Regions from separate parts of the Homo sapiens genome. Here region 2 is linked to region 1. The links are contacts of gene promoters, found by promoter capture Hi-C in human tissues and cell types (Jung and others, 2019). All regions are on one chromosome and are shown on one strand. Each heading gives the region's core, a stretch centred on a gene start or on the middle of the fragment in contact. The rest is flanking DNA. Distances are from core to core; before and after follow the strand shown. Region 1 holds the start of NLRP8 (NLR family pyrin domain containing 8). Region 2 overlaps ZSCAN5A-AS1 (ZSCAN5A antisense RNA 1).

Region 1 (2,700 bases), core at 155-2,654:
TACCGATCTATGATAAAAGTTTAAATTATAAATTAGGTACAGTAAGAGATTAACAATAATAATGAAATAGAACAATTATAATACTATACTATCATAAACGGTATGTAAATGTGGTCTCTCTCTGTCTCAGAATATCTCAGTGTACTGTACTCATCTATTTTTGGCCATGATCAACCCAAACTTCAGAAAGCAAAACCTTGGATAAGGGGATGACTGTAGTCCAGCTCTGCTTTATTCATATTGAAGATGAGGTTTTGGATTACAATATCCTCCAGTGGGATTCACCCTTTGTTGCTGCGAAATGGCCTTTTAAAGTGTTTAACCTTCTTGCTTTAAATATAGCACTCCTGACATCACCATAGCTATACCAGCTGTCTTCTGCTGTTTCCATAGCATATGCTTTTCCACTATTTTACTTCCTACTTCTCTATGACTTCATTTAACGTTCACCTCATATAAGCAGTATTCAGTTAAGTTTTTAAAAAATAGGCCCATATGGGCTGGGCACAGTGGCTCACACCTGCAATCCCAGCACTTTGGGGGGCCAAGGCAGGCGGATTACCTGAGGTCAGTAGTTCGAGACCAGCCTGGCCAACATGGTGAAACCCCGTCTCTACTAAAAATAAAAAAAAATTACCCAGGCATGGTGGTGGGTGCCTGTAATCCCAGCTACTCAGGAGGCTGAGGCAGGAGAATCACCTGTACCTGGGAGGCGGGGTTTGCAGTGAGCCGAGATTGTGCCATTGCACTTCAGCCTGGGCAAGAAGAGCGAAACCCCATCTCAGAAAAATAAAATTAAAAAAATGCCCGTATGACAGTCTTTGCCTTTGGGTTAGATCCATTATCTTCCTCCACTGTTTGCTTTCTTGCTCAGAAGGCCAATAAGTGATAGGGGTGGTGACTAGAGTAGTTTAGCTGCCCAGCAGCCAAGCCCACCCCCACTTTATCCACCAGATCAACACTCACCATTTATCTCTCTGCGGACTACAACACACATTTTATCACAGTTCATAATGGCAAAGATGTTCGAAGTCACATCCCAAGCGCGTCGTCCAGGGAAACGCTCTATCAAGAGATGAACCACCTCTGCCCAGCTGGCTGTCTCGACCTGGTCCCAGGTGATGGGCATGGTGCCAGTACTGAGCTCAGTCAGTAAGAGCTGCTTGAACCGTTGTAGCTCCTCATGGCTCACGTTTCTCATGTACAGCATGACCCCATTTTCACATGGGGAGCCGGGGTAGCAAGAGAATGTCCAGGGCGGAATATGAGAACTGTGAGTGGAGGAGGATGAAAAGGGAATGGGGGTGTCAGAGGGTGGATTCACGTCACTCATCTTTAGTCAAGGCAGAGAACACCTCAGTGTCCACGATAAAGACAACCGATTGGAAGAGAGAAACACGAGACCTGCAGAGACATAAAACAATAAAACAAGAAGATGAAAACACTACCCAAGAAAACAGATTCGTGTAATGCTTACTTGGCAGGTATTCTGCGTGCCGGGTACTCCCTTTACCTCCTTTCCTCAAAGATTCTCTGCCCTATGGAAAAACTGAAGATGCATGGAATGTTTGGGATTAGTCCATTAGACTAATGGATTGTTTGTAGTTTCTATTCTCCATGACTTCTTTTGGGGAAGAGGCAAGCAAAATATCAAAGCCTTCACAAAAGGTTTAGCGAAAAGAAAAATTAGAAGCAGGTAAAATAATTCAGTGAAGCTAAAATCTAGAAAATATATGGTTGGTTAGAAGGCTCCATTAGATTAAAAGTGATCTCAAATTCAACAAAGTTTTTATTCTTAAAAAAATGGATCATGTATTAGAGAGATGCAAATCAAAACCACAACGAGATGTCATCTCACACCAGTCAGAATGGTGATTATTAAAAAGTCAAGCAATAACAGATGCTGTATTCTTAAAAAATGGATCATGTATTAGAGAGATGCAAATCAAAACCACAACGAGATGTCATCTCACACCAGTCAGAATGGTGATTATTAAAAAGTCAAGCAATAACAGATGCTGGTGAAGTCGCAGAGAAAAAGGAACACTTATACTCTGTGTGTGGGAGTGTAAATTAGTTCAACTACTCTGGATGACAGTGGGGCAACTCCTCAAAGACCTAAAAAGAGAACTACCATTCAACTCAGCAATCCCATTACTGGATATATATCCAAAGGAATATAAATCATTCTATTATAAAGACACATTCCTGTGTATGTTCATTGCAGCACTACTCACAATAGCAAAGTCATGGAATCAACCTAAATGCCCATCAGTGATAGACCGGATAAAAAAATGTGGTACATAAACACCATGGAATACTATGCAGCCATAAAAAAGAATGAGATCATGACCTTTGCAGGAACATAGATGGAGCCAGAGACCATTATTCCTTAGCAAACTAACACAGGAACAGGAAACCAAATACCACATGTGCTCATTTATAAGTGGTAGCTAAACGATGAGAACACATGGACACATAGAGGGAACACCACACACTGGAGTCTGCTAGAGGCTGGAGGGTGGGAGGAGGGAGAAGATCAGGAAAAATAACTAATGGGTACTGGGATTAATACCTGGGTGATGAGATAACCTGTACAACAAACCCACCCCCATAACACGTTTGCCTATATAACAAACCTGCACATGTACCCCTGTATCTAAAAGAAATGTAAAAAAGAAATAAAATAAAAAGGATCAT
Region 2 (2,700 bases), core at 138-2,637, 390 kb before region 1:
TGTCACTTTCAGGTACACCAATCAACTGTAGTTCGGTCTTTTCACATAGTCTCATATTTCTTGGAGGCTTTGTTAGTTCCTTTTCATTCTTTTTTCTCTAATCTTTTCTTCATGCCTTATTTTAGTAAGTTGATCTTCAATCTCTGATATCGTTTCTTTTGCGTGATCAATTTGGCTATTGATACTTGTGTATGACAAATGATGGCAACTCCTCTCCAGCAAGGGCACAAAACTGGACGGAGAATGAGATTGATGAATTGACAGAAGTAGGCAGATTTGCCCTGAGGGGTTCCCAGCTTGAAGGGATCCAAGATATTTCCCTTTCACAAGACAATCCCATTCTGTCAATGAATTAATCTGTTGGAGTTTGCTGGAGGTCCACACCAGACCCTGTTCACAAGAAGATCTTTTCACTTCCCTCTTCTCCTGCAAGGGAAGACTTTAAGAGACCTGAATTGACATGGCAAGGTGGTCTCATTTTCAACTCTCAAGCACAAAGTCTTTCTTCTCTTTGGTTTGCCTGCCAAAATGAAAATTCGAGGTTACCAAAAGCTTCAGTTCCAGTATATCTCCTTCTTATTCCACAGAAATTGTAGTTCATGGATATGAAGGCTCTAACAGCTAAGTATAATTTTGCCATCATGAAAAAGCCAATGAGAAGCCAATAAAAACAGGATTTCAGAAACACATAAGTACCTCCATTTCCAACTATGTGTCAAAAGCTTTCCTGATTAAGCTTGTTTGTTTGAGATTTCTCTAGCTGTAGCCAAAAATATCCTAAATTATTATCATTAGTATTCCTTTCATGACATTGATGTGACCTGCTACCCTGACTCATACTAAGAGAAGAATCAAGAGAATTGTGAAAAGGAAAAGTGGTTTTGAACTTCGTTCTCCTGGAGATCCGACAATCTAACCTTAGAACTCTGCTTCCTCCAGTTTTCTCATTCCGTCTGCAGTGAGAGCTGCCCTGCTGGCTCCACTGCTACTTTGAATGCAGGCACTGCCTTGAGAGACATTTTGCTGACAGAAAGATGATAGGGGGGCTTTCAAATGATTCCTTCTGAAAGTTGACATTCAACTCATGTTTACTCTTTGGGTAACTTTATCCTGCAAATTCTGAGAGAACACCATCCTTCTAGGTCCAGTTGGCCACAGAACAGGTTGCATGAGTCTCCATAGCAAAATGGAAATCCAAATGGAATCCAATTTCCATTTGGATTTCCATTTTGCACAAAGTGAGTTTTCTCTGTCCATTTTGGGTTTGGATGGAGGAGGGGAAAAATGCTCAGACTTTCCCCAAGACAGTAGTATCAGACAATCCCCAGGAACAGATTGGAAGGGTCAGTGTGGGCAGGTGTTGAGTTCTCTAAGTCATCTAGAGCAAGGGCAGGCAAATCTTGGCCCACAGGCTAAATATGGCTGCAATTCCTCCTTTACATATTGCTAAATACGGCTACAACCGCTCCTTCACATATTGCTAAATGCGGCTACAACCGCTCCTTCACATATTGCTAAATGCGGCTACAACCGCTCCTTCACATATTGCTAAATGCGGCTACAGCCGCTCCTTCACATATTGCTAAATGCGGCTACAGCCGCTCCTTCACATATTGCTAAATGCGGCTACAGCCGCTCCTTCACATATTGCTAAATGCGGCTACAGCCGCTCCTTCACATATTGCTAAATGCGGCTACAGCCGCTCCTTCACATATTGCTAAATGCGGCTACAGCCGCTCCTTCACATATTGCTAAATGCGGCTACAGCCGCTCCTTCACATATTGCTAAATGCGGCTACAGCCGCTCCTTCACATATTGCTAAATGCGGCTACAGCCGCTCCTTCACATATTGCTAAATGCGGCTACAGCCGCTCCTTCACATATTGCTAAATGCGGCTACAGCCGCTCCTTCACATATTGCTAAATGCGGCTACAGCCGCTCCTTCACATATTGCTAAATGCGGCTACAGCCGCTCCTTCACATATTGCTAAATGCGGCTACAGCCGCTCCTTCGCATATTGCTAAATATGGCTACAGCTGCTCCTTTGCATATTGCTAAATACGGCTACAACTGCTCCTTTGCATATTGCTTACAGTGGCTTTCAATCTGCAAGAGAAGACTTGAATAGTTGCCACAGACACCTTCTGGTTTGCAAACTGTAAATATTTATTACCCTTTACAGAAAAGGTTTGCTGTCATATGTCTCACAAATCCAGTGCAGTCTGTAATTAGTTACAATGAAAAGATGACAATGCCCAGGTCACATTGTTCCTAAGGCCTGTTCTGTATTTCTCCCCATTTAGAATGAATTCCCTGCAGGCATTTTTGCACTCCAAATACATTACGTCACTGTCAAGCTTTCTCCTTCCATATATGCTTTGAACCCTGGGAACAGGCCACCTTTTCAGTTCAGTTCACAGTGGCTGTGTCTTCTGCTTCAGCCAAAACTTTCACTGTGGTCATGGCCTTCCAAGCTACAAGGCCAGCTAGCAGGATGGGAAAGCTACAAGGCCAGCCAGGACCCAAGGTCCTGTTGGGTACCCTAAAATCTCATTCTGTTGTCACCTTTGCCCCCTCATCCAAGTGACCATCTCTGGAATCTAGTTGGAAACATCTCCTTCCTCCCTAGACAAAGACCCATAGTCCTGGTATAATCATCATCCAGTGTAATGGGGGCTCTATCACTGTTTTCTACT

Evidence for each region. The method cuts DNA at HindIII sites, captures the fragments that hold promoters and counts their contacts. A contact is called where the count stands out against the background at its distance.
Region 2: a fragment that was not itself captured here is called in contact with the fragment with the promoter of NLRP8 in region 1 in 2 of the 25 tissues and cell types used here (spleen and thymus).

What each region holds. Positions count from the first base shown.
Region 1 is chr19:55,946,536-55,949,235 of GRCh38, reverse strand. NLRP8 (NLR family pyrin domain containing 8) reads right to left here and starts at 1,404. Exons shown (of 10, transcript NM_001433706.1): 1 at 967-1,404. The coding sequence starts at 1,333. The HindIII fragment of the contact is 14,722 bases long and covers 1-2,700 here.
Region 2 is chr19:56,338,606-56,341,305 of GRCh38, reverse strand. It overlaps ZSCAN5A-AS1 (ZSCAN5A antisense RNA 1), which reads right to left. Exons shown (of 3, transcript NR_186830.1): 3 at 104-520. It also overlaps a transcript of ZSCAN5A not described here and the pseudogene VN2R18P. Among named protein-coding and RNA genes, the nearest start is that of ZSCAN5A, 25 kb to the right of the region's middle. The HindIII fragment of the contact is 4,392 bases long and covers 1-2,700 here.